Regions from separate parts of the Homo sapiens genome. Here regions 2, 3, 4 and 5 are each linked to region 1. The links are contacts of gene promoters, found by promoter capture Hi-C in human tissues and cell types (Jung and others, 2019). All regions are on one chromosome and are shown on one strand. Each heading gives the region's core, a stretch centred on a gene start or on the middle of the fragment in contact. The rest is flanking DNA. Distances are from core to core; before and after follow the strand shown.

What was found. Contacts are between HindIII fragments. The study calls those that stand out against the background at their distance.
Region 2: a contact is called between a fragment that was not itself captured here and the fragment with the promoter of UQCC1 in region 1, in 1 of the 25 tissues and cell types used here (hippocampus).
Region 3: a contact is called between a fragment that was not itself captured here and the fragment with the promoter of UQCC1 in region 1, in 6 of the 25 tissues and cell types used here (aorta, bladder, dorsolateral prefrontal cortex and 3 more).
Region 4: a contact is called between a fragment that was not itself captured here and the fragment with the promoter of UQCC1 in region 1, in 2 of the 25 tissues and cell types used here (aorta and lymphoblastoid cells).
Region 5: a contact is called between the fragment with the promoter of MMP24 here and the fragment with the promoter of UQCC1 in region 1, in 3 of the 25 tissues and cell types used here (IMR-90 fibroblasts, aorta and mesenchymal stem cells).

What each region holds. Positions count from the first base shown.
Region 1 is chr20:35,410,707-35,413,406 of GRCh38, reverse strand. UQCC1 (ubiquinol-cytochrome c reductase complex assembly factor 1) reads left to right here and starts at 1,434. Exons shown (of 10, transcript NM_018244.5): 1 at 1,434-1,467. The coding sequence starts at 1,444. RefSeq lists enhancers at 1,199-1,248, 456-1,278, 1,379-1,528, 1,589-1,688, 1,279-2,102. The HindIII fragment of the contact is 20,339 bases long and covers 1-2,700 here.
Region 2 is chr20:35,652,048-35,654,771 of GRCh38, reverse strand. All of the region lies in intron 1 of CPNE1 (copine 1), which reads left to right. RBM12 (RNA binding motif protein 12) reads left to right here. Exons shown (of 3, transcript NM_006047.6): 3 at 1-2,724. The coding sequence ends at 2,248. Among named protein-coding and RNA genes, the nearest start is that of CPNE1, 11 kb to the left of the region's middle. The HindIII fragment of the contact is 4,724 bases long and covers 1-2,724 here.
Region 3 is chr20:35,258,275-35,260,974 of GRCh38, reverse strand. All of the region lies in intron 2 of MMP24-AS1-EDEM2 (MMP24-AS1-EDEM2 readthrough), which reads left to right. The region is part of intron 4 of MMP24 (matrix metallopeptidase 24); the gene reads right to left. Among named protein-coding and RNA genes, the nearest start is that of MMP24-AS1-EDEM2, 18 kb to the left of the region's middle. The HindIII fragment of the contact is 5,720 bases long and covers 1-2,700 here.
Region 4 is chr20:35,191,147-35,193,846 of GRCh38, reverse strand. All of the region lies in intron 4 of MMP24-AS1-EDEM2 (MMP24-AS1-EDEM2 readthrough), which reads left to right. It also overlaps a transcript of PROCR not described here. Among named protein-coding and RNA genes, the nearest start is that of PROCR, 20 kb to the right of the region's middle. The HindIII fragment of the contact is 4,534 bases long and covers 1-2,700 here.
Region 5 is chr20:35,225,402-35,228,101 of GRCh38, reverse strand. It overlaps MMP24 (matrix metallopeptidase 24), which reads right to left and starts at 1,412. Exons shown (of 9, transcript NM_006690.4): 1 at 1,118-1,412. The coding sequence starts at 1,363. All of the region lies in intron 3 of MMP24-AS1-EDEM2 (MMP24-AS1-EDEM2 readthrough), which reads left to right. The HindIII fragment of the contact is 20,114 bases long and covers 1-2,700 here.

The DNA.
Region 1 (2,700 bases), core at 185-2,684:
ATGCCTCCCCCACCAGTCTAAGAACTCCATGAAGCCAGTATGTCTTGTGTTCAGCACATAGGGAAGACTCAATAGGTCTTTGTTGACTGAATGAAATGAAAGAAGTCCTTCAACATCCTGCCCCTCTGCTCCCTCAACCCCCAAAGCACCAGTACTTTGTCTTCTCTTCTCTTGGGATGTAATGGAAGAGGAGTCTTCTACCAAGGCCGTTCTCTGCCACTTTCCTCAAGAAGCTCCTTGCCTCTTTGATTGATTCTCCTGTATACTCTTTTTTTTTTTTTTTTTTTGAGACGGAGTCTCGCTTTGTCACCCAGGCTGGAGTTCAGTGCCCCAGTCTCAGCTCACTGCAACCTCTGCCTCCCGGGTTCAAGCGATTCCCTGCCTCAGCCTCCCAAGTAGCTGGGATTACAGGCACACGCCACCATGCCCGGCTAATTTTTTTCGTATTTTCAGTAGAGACGGGGTTTCACCATATTGGTCAGGCTGGTCTTGAACTCCTGACCTCAGGCAATCCACCTGCCTCGGCCTCCCAAAGTGTTGGGATTACAGGCATGAGCCACCGGGCACGGCCCTGTATACTCTTCACTAATCTTTTCCTATCAATATGCAAAGATGTTTCCCTTAAACAACCAACCAACCACAAATCCCAAAAGTTTCTTCCTCTACCAGGCTTCAGATCGGCACATGACCGCCTTCTTGCCTTGACTTTCAGGAGTCTGGTATCCCCCGTATTCTTTTATCTTAGCCTCCTTCTCTGGCTTTTTTTTTTTTTTTTTTTTTTTTTTTTTTGAGACAGAGTCCAGTCCTGCTCTGTCGCCCAGGCTGGAGTGCAGTGGCGCGATCTCGGCTCACTGCAACCTCTGCCTTCAGAGTAGCTGGGATTACAGGCACACACCAACATGCCCGGCTACTTTCTTTGTATTTTTAGTTAGGGACGGGGTTTTGCCATGTTGGCCAGGCTAGTCTCGAACTCCTGATCTCAGGTGATCCGCCCGCCTCGGCCTCCCAAAGTGCTGGGATTACAGGCGTGAGCCACCGCGCCCGGTCTTCTGGCTCTTTCTAAAGATTGGGATTTCCTAAAGTCCTGTTCTTTTCAACCTCCATTGAAAAGTGTTGGGGTGGAGTTTGGGAAGGAGGGGCTGAGGAGTGAGGCTGGGTTAGGTGGGGAATAAAGAGAGGGATATGAGAAGCCCCGAGGTCTGGGGTCAAGGAGACAGGCGTGGGGGAAGGATTTGAACCACTGTTACGTGTAGTGGGGGAGACAGCAGGGAGAGCGTGCCCGGGCACGACAGCCTGGTGCACAGCCGAGAAAACAACAGCGCGTGCGCGTAGCGACCTCTTTGCGCCTGCGCCCCCCTTGCCAGTCTTTCGCCGGCAAAAGGAGGACGTAGAAAAGGGGACACCGGAAACTCACTCTTCACCCGGAAATGGTTATTGAGGAACATGGCGTTGCTGGTGCGAGTCCTTGTGAGTGAAGGAGTAATTTTCTACGGTAGCTCTCTGGGTCCCGGGTTGGAGTTCGACAAGGCAGGGCGGGAGGAATTGGAAGGAATCGCAGGAGGGAAGCCTGTGTTATAGCTAGGCTGAGTGGCCGCTTTTCCGTGGGGAAACTGAGGCAGCTTCCGACCTCTTCCTACCCCGTTTTGACCTTAGCTCCCCCATCTTTCGAGAAGGGGAAGACTGACATCTGGCCTTTATTTGATGGGGTTTACTTTTCCTTCCCTCCCCCATGTACCTGCTTCCCCTCAGGGAGAGGAGCATGTAGGACACTGATTGGAGTTTCAGGAGGCCTGGGTTCTAGTCCCTGACTGTCACTGATGCATAGTGACTTTAAGCAAGTCACTTTTGGGCCTCATTGACCCTATGTGAAAAACGAGGACATTTATCTCCTGCAGTCCCTTTAGATTCTGAGATTCTCAGGGTTTCTTTCATAGGTAATAAGTCAGTTCTTAACTGTACAGTTAAGTGGAATATAGATTATTAGATTGAAAGCTGCGTGAGAATTGGAGTCATGTCTGTCTCCGTCGTTTTCACTTTGCCTAGCATGGTGTCTGGCACATCATAGGTGTTAAATGATTACTTGTTGAATAAATGAATGAAGTAAGGAAAGACTACCAGACTCTTTAGCACCCGTGTGTGAAACTACTGCACCTCTTGAGATTTAGTCCTGACCCTTCTAGCATACTCTTTTCTCTAGCAATTAAAGGAGAAAAGAAAGTGGCAGCAGAAAAAACGTTAGGATACAGAGCTTAGTTTTTAATCATGGAGGGATGGGAGAGTGTATAGTTTTAGCGAGTCTTCAAAAACTGGGTCAAAGACACTGTTTTTCATAGTAGACATGGTCTATTCCTGTGTCTAGGTAACTTCTGAATTGTTATTTTACATTTGTGTTTTTGATCTTTTTATATATGTCTTACAAGGACGACAGTTTTACTTCTTGTATTCCTTGCCAGCCTAGCAGAGTGAGGTACCCTCGACTGCTGTTCAGTAAATATTTATTTGTAGAGTAGCCCCTGTAACTGCCAGAAAGATTCACCTGGTGAAGTGATTGTTTGATTTCAGGCCAGAAATTGATTCAGAAATGAGGACTGCTGGGGAAATGGCAATTAGAATGTTCTGAATTTAGTGGTTTTTTTTTTTTTTTTTTTTTTAATCCTTCCCCTGCCACCCTTTAGGGTTTTGTTTTTTTTTTTTTTTTTT
Region 2 (2,724 bases), core at 164-2,663, 240 kb before region 1:
AGTCCCGCCGCCACCAATTCCTCCAATTCCAGCGATGCCATCTCTGCCACCAATGCCATCCATTCCCCCAATTCCAGTTCCTCCTCCAGTACCTACATTGCCTCCTGTGCCTCCTGTGCCCCCGATTCCCCCAGTTCCTTCTGTGCCACCCATGACCCCACTGCCACCCATGTCGGGCATGCCGCCCTTGAATCCGCCACCTGTGGCACCTCTACCTGCTGGAATGAATGGCTCTGGAGCACCTATGAATTTGAACAATAATCTGAATCCTATGTTTCTTGGTCCGTTGAATCCTGTTAACCCTATCCAGATGAACTCTCAGAGCAGTGTGAAGCCACTCCCCATCAACCCTGATGATCTGTATGTCAGTGTGCATGGAATGCCCTTTTCTGCAATGGAAAATGATGTCAGAGATTTTTTTCATGGGCTCCGTGTTGATGCAGTGCATTTGTTGAAAGATCATGTAGGTCGAAATAATGGGAATGGATTGGTTAAGTTTCTCTCCCCTCAAGATACATTTGAAGCTTTGAAACGAAACAGAATGCTGATGATTCAACGCTATGTGGAAGTTAGCCCTGCCACAGAAAGACAGTGGGTAGCTGCTGGAGGCCATATCACTTTTAAGCAAAATATGGGACCTTCTGGACAAACTCATCCCCCTCCTCAGACACTTCCCAGGTCAAAATCGCCCAGTGGGCAGAAAAGATCAAGGTCAAGATCACCACATGAGGCTGGTTTTTGTGTTTACTTGAAAGGGCTACCATTTGAAGCAGAAAACAAACATGTCATTGATTTTTTTAAAAAGCTGGATATTGTGGAAGATAGTATTTATATAGCTTATGGACCCAATGGGAAAGCAACTGGCGAAGGCTTTGTAGAGTTCAGAAATGAGGCTGACTATAAGGCTGCTCTGTGTCGTCATAAACAGTACATGGGCAATCGCTTTATTCAAGTTCATCCAATTACTAAGAAAGGTATGCTAGAAAAGATAGATATGATTCGAAAAAGACTGCAGAACTTCAGCTATGACCAGAGGGAAATGATACTAAATCCAGAGGGGGATGTCAACTCTGCCAAAGTCTGTGCCCACATAACAAATATTCCATTCAGCATTACAAAGATGGATGTTCTTCAGTTCCTAGAAGGAATCCCAGTGGATGAAAATGCTGTACATGTTCTTGTTGATAACAATGGGCAAGGTCTAGGACAGGCATTGGTTCAGTTTAAAAATGAAGATGATGCACGTAAGTCTGAACGCTTACACCGTAAAAAACTTAATGGGAGAGAAGCTTTTGTTCATGTAGTTACCCTAGAAGATATGAGAGAGATTGAGAAAAATCCCCCTGCCCAAGGAAAAAAGGGATTAAAGATGCCTGTGCCAGGTAATCCTGCAGTTCCAGGAATGCCCAATGCGGGACTGCCCGGTGTGGGACTGCCCAGTGCAGGACTTCCCGGTGCAGGCCTGCCCAGCACAGGACTGCCTGGTTCAGCAATAACCAGTGCAGGACTGCCTGGTGCGGGAATGCCCAGTGCAGGAATACCTAGTGCAGGAGGTGAAGAGCATGCCTTCCTGACTGTAGGATCAAAGGAAGCCAATAATGGGCCTCCATTTAACTTTCCTGGTAATTTTGGTGGATCAAATGCCTTTGGGCCACCAATCCCTCCTCCAGGATTAGGAGGCGGGGCCTTTGGTGATGCTAGGCCTGGTATGCCTTCAGTTGGAAACAGTGGTTTGCCTGGTCTAGGACTGGATGTTCCGGGTTTTGGAGGTGGACCAAACAATTTAAGTGGGCCATCGGGATTTGGAGGGGGCCCTCAGAATTTTGGAAATGGCCCTGGTAGCTTAGGCGGTCCCCCGGGGTTTGGAAGTGGCCCTCCTGGTCTTGGAAGTGCCCCTGGGCATTTGGGTGGGCCACCAGCTTTTGGGCCTGGCCCCGGCCCCGGCCCCGGCCCTGGCCCAATCCATATTGGTGGTCCCCCTGGCTTTGCATCTAGTTCTGGAAAACCAGGACCGACAGTAATTAAAGTGCAAAACATGCCCTTTACTGTGTCTATTGATGAGATTTTAGATTTCTTTTATGGCTATCAAGTAATCCCAGGCTCAGTGTGTTTAAAATACAATGAAAAAGGTATGCCCACAGGTGAAGCCATGGTGGCCTTTGAGTCTCGGGATGAAGCCACAGCTGCTGTCATTGACTTAAATGACAGGCCTATAGGTTCAAGAAAAGTAAAACTTGTATTAGGGTAGCCATTCACATCATTTTTTATAGGGTAGATCTTCATATTGCTGTGATTAATGCATCCAGATTGTTTTCCTAGTATTTCCAGGTTAGAACCTGTGGATTGTTTCAATTGCATATAGCTTGGTTTCCATAACATAGAGCATTGGTTGACTGTTTACAGAAGACTCACTCACCAGGATAAACATTGCTGTATGTTACAGTAAAGCTATCTGGAGAGAACACATAAATGATTTTGGCATACCATTAGAGAAACCATTTGTAAAACTCAAATGACCACATAAAGCTTATCAAGGAGTCTAGATTGGTTTTGTTTTATACCATATGGGATGAAGAAAATAGAAATGTCAGTAGAACTCATTGAGGGTGCTCTTGCCAGCTGCTGAAAATAGAAGTTGGCTACTCTCAGAATTTGGTTTAAAGCTGGACAGATTTGCTTTGTTATAGGGTAAAGCTTTGTCTAAAGTCCTCATTTTCTTTTAAA
Region 3 (2,700 bases), core at 185-2,684, 150 kb after region 1:
GAGGCTGCCAGGAACCTAGGAGGTGGTCTAGAGTCCTACTGCCCACTCTGGCCCCAGCGTCACTGGCCTAGGGACACATGGGGGTGGGGATTGTTTGGCCTTCCTGGCTTAGGTCTCTGGAAGAGAGAAGAACCCCATGGGGCAGACCCAGGCCACGGGCAGTACATGCCTCCCACACTACTGACACCGCCAGTGTCTTCTGTGAAGCCACCTTTGAGCAACGGAAAGGAAGGGGGATGGGCAAGATCAGTGCAAGGTTGGCCAAAAGCCTGGGGCTGGCCTTCTGCTGGCATGAGAGGGCCAGGCCGCCCCCAGCTCCTTACTCAGGTCCTGGCCCCTCTGGCAGCAGGGAAGGGTGAGCTCATCGCTGAGCTCCATCCCAAACAAACTGGTAGAGCCAGCGGAAGGCAGCTCTGCTTCCTGGGGTCCAGTCCTGGCTGTGCTCCTGGGCTATTCTATGACCTGGGACAAGCTGTTCAGGGCCTCTGTCTCCTGAGCAGGCTCTTCCCCAGGGGCTGTCCACAGGGAGCTCAGCTGGGAACCAGGGAACACGGCTCTGAGCACTGTGGGAGACTCAAAACCTTTGTCCGCAGCCTTGTCTCTTGCTCTTTTAACCCCTGTTCTGGGTCTGCAGAGAACAGGAGTGACCCCTTAAAGGAAAGAGGCCTGTGGTTTGGGTCCAGGAACCAAAAGGAAGGGAAGAGCGAGGGAGCCAGTATCCTGCTGCACAGAAACCCAAGAGAGCCCTGAGGGGGAGACAGAGGGAGCAGGGCAGGGGCAGGAGGACTCCCTGAGCTTGTGAGGTGAAGGCAGAGGTATGAGGAGGAGAGGCCTGCTATGAGGACCCCATGCTCCATGGGCAGGAGGCTGCTAGGGTCTTCACTCTTCAAGAGGGTGAGCGGCAGGGAAGCAGAGTGGTCAGGAATGCAGTCTCTGGGAGCCAGACTGCCTGGTTTTGAATCCCAGCTCTGCCATGTCCTAGCAGTGTGACATTTTAAATTCTTCCTCTGGAAGATAGAAGGAACAATGGCACCTTCGTCATAGGGATGTGGGTGAAGATTCATGGGGCAGGGTGTGTAATGCGCTGATACCAGCTCCTGGTACAGAAGTATTACCCTTCATTAGCAGGGTCCTGTTGAGCTGTGTGTGAGCACCAGCACCCCTGATAGGGTGTGTTCCTGTAAGTCCCTGGGCCTCCGAGCAAGTCCCCAGCAGTCTACTCGGCTACTCAAGTGGACCTTGTCTCTGCCTCATTTCTTTCTTTTAGGATCTCCATATTTGGTCGTTCCCATCTCATTAACTCCCCCAGCCCCACGAAAGGTGATAGCATTTCCCTTTGCCTCTGTTCTTCTGCCAGTGCTGCCCCTTCCCCTGGAATAACCTGATTCCTTCAAAGTTCAGCTCCATGCCTGTCTTCCAGGAAGCCTTCCATGACTTCCCAGCTGGCAGTGAGTGCTCCTTCTGCTGTGCCCTCCCAGCAGTTTCCCTGAACTGCCTTTATGGCACTGACCGCTTCCTCCCCACGTGATTGCCACTAGTGCACATGCTCGCTGCCCCAGGACTGTGGGTTCCTTGAGGACAAGCTTTGTGTTGAAGAACCAGGTGACAGCCCCCGGAATGGAACAGCGCCAAAAGCACCGTATTTTACCAAGGGAAATACTCGGACCACCTGCAGCAGAACCACCTGTGGTGACTTAAAAATGCGGAGTCCTGGGGTCACACCTGGCTCTGCCACTTTCCAAAGGGGTGAATTTCCTATTTTTTTAAAAAGTATTTTCTTTCTTTTTTATTTTTGAGACAGGATCTCACTCTGTCACCCAGGTTGGAGTGTAGTGGTGCAATCTCGGCTCACTTGAACCTCCGCCTCCCGGGTTCAAGCCATTCTCCTGCCTCAGCCTCCCGAGTAGCTGGGATTACAGGCATGTGCCACCACACCCGGCTAATTTTTGTATTTTTAGTAGAGACGGGGTTTTGCCATGTTGGCCAGGCTGGTCTCGAACTCCTGACCTCAGGTGATCTGCCCCCCCTCGGCCTCCCAAAGTGCTGGGATTACTCCAGTGCTCCCATCGCACCTGGCCCGGGGAGCCTTTTAAACACATGGAGGAGGTGGGGAAGATATTCTGATTCAGGAGGTTTGGTTTGGGACGTAGGCAATCTTTTTTGTTGTTTTTTTTTTTTAAGTTCTCCAGGTGAATTGTATAATGGTTGGGTCAGGCTGACACAACCTGAAGCAAATGCTCGACCTCAACATCACTAAAAGTGGGACAGTCTGCATCATATGTATTTGCTAATATGGTGAATAGGAAGTACCAGCACCACCTAGGAAGTATTCTTGCCAAAAAAATTGAACTTGAATCTAGTCAGCCTGTAAATCTAATGAACAACATTCAGGAATTATGGGCAAGAGAGACGTATTAAAAGTAAACTTGATTCTAGTCACGCCAAATGATTATACTCGGGACACCTGACCCAGTTTCTTCAACAAATATATGGAGGGAAACGTGTGTGTAGGACGGGGGTGTTTTAAATAAAAAGGGCTTTAAGAGACATGTCAGCCATGTGTGTGTGGATCTTGTTTGGATCCTGATTCAAGCAAACAACTGTAAAAGACATTTCCAAGGTACTTTGGGAAAGTGAACTCGAACTGGGTATTAGATTTTAAAAAATTATTGTTAATTTTGTTGGGCTTGATAATGATTG
Region 4 (2,700 bases), core at 132-2,631, 220 kb after region 1:
TGTTATCTATATAGTGAGCTCTCAAATTTAGGTCTTCAGCCTAGACATTTCCCTCAACTGCAGACTTGTATACCAACTGCATTCTATCAGCATTTCAACTTGGATGTCTAATAAATATCAAATGTAGTATGTACATAATGAATGCATTTCCCACCAAAACCTGCTTCTTCTATAGCTTCCCCATTTCAATAAATGTCAATTATAGCCTCCAGTTGCACAGATCAAAACCTCTGAGTCATTCCTTTGTAATGTAAACTTTATTGAGGCATAACACTGATACAGGAAAGTGCTCAAATTATAAATGTACAACTTAGTGAATGTTCACAAAGTGAGCCTATTGATATAGCCAGCATCCAGATTAAGAAACAGGGCAGGCCAGGTGCGGTGGCTCATGCCTGTAATCCCAGCACTCTGGGAGGCTGAGGCAGGCAGATCACGAGGTCAAGAGATCAAGACCATCCTGGCCAACACAGTGAAACCCCGTCTCTACTAAAAGTACAAAAATTAGCTGGGCGTGGTGGCATGCGCCTGTAGGCCCAACTACTCGGGGGGCTGTGGCAGGAGAATGGCTTGAACCTGGGAGGTGGAGGTTGCAGTGAGCCGAGATTGCGCCACTACACTCCAGCCTGGTGACAGAGCGAGACTCCATCTTAAAAAAAAAAAAAAAAGAAAGAAAGAAACAGGGCATTGCCTCAGAAGCCCTCATGTCTCCCTTCTAATCATTAGCTTCCCAAATGTAACCAATATCCTGGCTTCTAACACCACAGGTTAGTTCTGTGTGTCTTTGAAATTTATATAAATGTAATCATATAGTTTATACTTTTTTGTGTTTGGCTTCTTTTGATCAATATTATATTTGTGACATTCACTTATATTAAGACTTGTAGTTTAAGTTTTTCTACTCTCGTTGTATATTCCATTATGTAAATATAGTATAATTTGTTTCATTATTCTATTCTTGATGGTGTTTGGGTACTTTTTAGTTGGGGATATTACAAAGAATACTGCTATTGACAGAGCAGGAGCACTGTCATCTCGAACAAACACTGCCACTTTAAGTTCCAGCTCCCTTTCTAGCCTCGTGCATTTCAAGGAAATCACTCTCTTCTAAGTACAAATAGAAAGAGCAGACAGTAAAACATAGATAAGACAGCTTGGGTACAGAGGGAGGTGGGGGGAAAGTCTCCTGGGTAACTGCCAAACTTCACCCTCATACGATGGCTCCCAGTAAAACAGTAGGCCCTAATAAGCACATTCCTTTCCCTTCAGGTGCACTAAGATAGGGAAGCTAAAAGCAACCCGGGGGATATGCCTGCAGCTGCAGAAAGATGTATGGGAACAGACACACAACTTTCCCTCCCAGATAAGCACAACAAAGAAACACAGAAGCAGTCCAAGCCTCTGATAAATTCTCCCACCCTGAATCCTTAAAAACACTTAGTCTGTAAGAGAGTGTGGCTCTGACCTAACTTGGCCAGCTGCCCCACTCAAGTTTATTCAGAATAAACCTGTCCCTGTTGACTGTCGAGCCGCCCTTCGTGTTTCTCTCTTCTTTCTTTAATTCTTACAGCTATGACTAATCTTGTATATGTCTTTCAGTGAACATAGGTAAACGTTTCTGTTAGGCATATGCCTAGGAGGCAGATGTTCAACTTTAGTAGATACTGCGGTTTTCTAAACAGTGGTTGTTTCATATCAATTTACCTTACCAACAGCAGTGTAGGAAAGTTCTAATTGGCCTGTATCCTTGCCAATACTGTCTTTTCTTTCCTTCCTTGTTTGTCTTTTTCTTTCTGACTATTCTGATGGGTAATGGGTAAGTAGTGGTATCACCCTTGTCCTTGCCACCATCATTTTTCACCCATATTATTGCCTCCTAACAGGAATGTATGAGTATCCTTGGAGGTCCCTGAGTATTTCTTTGCCTTTTAAACTTTGTTTCCCCCCATGGTAGCCATAGTGATGCTTTTCAAATGCAAGTCAAATCACGTCAGTCCTCTTCTCGAAAGCCTCCAATGCCTTTCCATCTCACTCAGAACAAATAGCAAAGTACAGATAATTGGCTTATTAGGCCCTCGGTTATTTGCCTCCTGCTCTTTCTCTTCTCTTTGCCTGTACCACTTCAGATAAACTGGCCTCCTTGTTCATGAAATAAACCAAGCTTACTCCTCAGAGCTTTTGCACTTGTTCGGTCTATCTAAATTGGCTTGTTCTTCCCCTGGCCACTCTTGCACTTCCTTCATATCTCTGCTCAACTGTCATCTTATTCCAGAGGCCTGCCCTGATTATGCTGTCTAAAACAGCAACTCAGTTATTCTCCCTTCGACCTTCCTTATTTTTCTACCTATTTCCTACTAATTATCTCTGACATTAAAAAAAAATTATTTGTTTAGGGTCTGTCCCTCCCAGTAAACTGTAGCTTCTAAGACAGACTTTGTTTTTGTTCTCTGCTATATTGCTCTATTCCCACGTCCTAAAACAGCGTCTGAACCATAGAAGTCACTCAATAATTTTCTTTTTCTTATTTAGTAATTCTAGTGACCCGACTCAATAAATTTTTTTAAATAAATGCATGAGAAATTGACAAATTGTAACAAGTCCAGAAGAACAATAGCAGGTTACTGAACTGCCACATCAAATAAGGAACCCTTGAAGAAAGTAAGATGTTTAATCTGGAGAAGAAAAGATTGCTGGGCACGG
Region 5 (2,700 bases), core at 163-2,662, 190 kb after region 1:
TCAACAAATATACTCCATCTCTTAGGGTGGCGAGGCTATCACTCTGATTTTCCTCAGCAAAACACCATTGTCCCAACATCATTTATTAGAATATTGCAGTCCTCTAGGTTGGAAGATACTAGAGAAATTAGTCCAACTGCACCCCCCATGAGATATAGGATAAGGTCATGGGTAAATAAGGGGAGACTAGAGTCAGCCTGCCTAGGTTAGAATTCCAATTCCATCACTCACTAGCTGTGTGACCTTGGGCAAGTTACTTAAGCTCTTTGAGTCTGTATCCCCATCTGTAAAATGGGGATAATAATTGCAGCTATTTCATAGAGTAGTTATGAGGATTGAATTGGATAATTCGTATAAAACATAGCACCAGGCCTGGCACATAGTGAGTGTTCAGTAAATGCTAGCTGGCATTATTGTGATGATGATGTATGCATCCATGCAAGCATTATGCATGCCTCCATCCAATCCCCTCCGAGAGCTTTTACTTGCACATGCCAGTGATGAGCAGCTCGCCGCCTCCTAAGCTGGTTGAGCAGCTCCAATTGTTACAAACTTCTTCCTATATCGAGCCCAAATTTGTCTTCTTGCAACCCCCACTCCCGCTGGCCCTAGTTCTGCCCTGTGGGGCCAAGCTAGAACAAGTCTATCCTACCTCCACCTGACAGCCCTTCAGCTACGAAGACAGTGATCGAGTCCTTCCTCCGCCCTCCCCCTCCCCCTTCTCCAGCTTGAACATCCTCGGTTTCTTCTCCCAACCCACAACAGACTGGCTGCGCTTACTATTTACTCCGAGGCGTTGTACGGTTTCCCTCGCACATAGTCATGCAGGCCACACACCCCACTGCCAACACAACAAACCCGACCCTCGTGCTCGGCCCCCGCCCGCTGCCCCTGTCCGCGGTGCTGAAGCAGCTCCCGGCCTCGGCGGCCCTCGGCGAGGCCCTCCCCAGCCCCCGCCCTGGGCCGCGCCAGCCCGGACCCAAGGCGCGGACCCCCGGCGCGCCGCCTCCGCGACCTCGGCAGTAGGTGCGGCCCGGCCCAGGCCCGTCCCCGGTGCCGCCCCCCGCCCTGCCCGGATGCCCCGAGCCCGCGCCCCGGCCCCGCGCGCCAGCCCCACCTGCCCGGCGAAGGGCGCCTCCGCCTCGTCCGCCCGCGCCACCGCCACCGCCACCGCTGCCCGGTTCCCTGCCCCCGCCGCCGCCGCCGCCGCCCGCGCGGCGCCCGGGAGGCAGCAGAGCGCGGGCAGCAGCAGCAGCAGCAGCCGCCCAGGGACCCGCCAGCGGCTCCAGCGCGGGGCCTGGCCCGGCGGCGGCGGCGGCGGCGGCGGCCCCGGCGCGGCGCGGCCGCCCCGGCTCCTCGGCATCCCGGCGGCGGGGCCCGCGCCCGGCCCGCCTGCCTTCGCCGCCGCCGCCGCCGCCTCGGCCGCCAGCGCGCCCCCGCCTCCGCGCGCCCCGCCCCGGTGGGGGGCGGCCGGGGGCGCGGGGGCAGCACCCGGGCGGGACCTGCGAGGGCAGTGGCTCCCCGACCAGCCCTGGGGCAGGGGCCGCGGAGCGGCGCTGGGGAGGGGGTTGCAGAGGCTAAAAGAACAGTTCTAGAGGCAGGGTCCGAAGGGGTGGAACTGGAGGTCGGGGTCTGGGGGTAGCCCTGAGCAGGAGGGGGAAGAGGCTAAATCAGTAATCCTGGAGGTAGAACAACTGGATGGCCCTGGGGGAACATATCCGGGGTTGGGGGTCCGGAACCCTGGGGAGAGGGTCCTAGGGAGTGGCATTGGAGGAGAGGGGGCCTGAGAGGCAGCCTGGGGGAGGAGACTGAGGAGCGGCTCTGGGGTAAAGGCGGGGTTCGAGAGCAAGCTAAAGAAATAGCCCTGGGTCTGAGAGGGTGACTCCGGAGAGGGAGCTCTGAGTGGCTCTCCTGGGCCGGGGTGGTGGGGGAAAGGGGTAGAGAAGACCTGAGGAGCGTTTAAGAGGGGGCATTCCTGTGAGACATTAGGTGAAGTTGAGGTGAAGCTCAGTCCCTCACCCCTAGAGGGAAAGAGCTCATCCAGCTGGGAAGATCATCTTTCATCCAAAACAACCCATATTTATCAAGCGCTTTCTATTTGTAGGGCTCTGGGCTACTTGGGATGCTGAAAGGAAAAAAAAAAACACCCAAAAACAAAAACAAAAAAGAGAAGGCCGATTTCCTGGAGTGCAGAGGTTTACAGCTTGATGAGAAAACATAAACGCAAAGAAAAACAGAATGGCAAACACCACGTGTCAACAAGGATACAGGCGGCTGCTCCAGGGGTCGAGGGAGACCTGATGAGGGGCTGGGGAAGTTAGGAAAAAGTGTAATGGAGGAGGGTGGGACTCTAGCTAGGACCTGAAGGAAAGGCTGGATTTAAACCAGGGGAGGGGAGAGGAGAGGGCATTTCAGGGAGGAAGTTGAGGGTGTACAGGATGTGCCTGAGGCGGCAGATAAGTTTCTCTGGAGCACAGGGTTCCTATAGGAAAGTGTTGGGAAGTGAGGGAAGTTGTACAAGACAGTGAATGCTAGGATAATAAATTTGGGTTGTGTTCTGAAGGAAAATGGGGGAGGGTGGTCATTAAAGGTTGTGTGTGTGTGGTGTGTGTGTGTGTATGTGTGTGTTTAAGCAGGATGATGTGTGAAAATAGTATTTTATGATTACGTGGTAATTTGGAGATGAAAAAAGGGCACAGG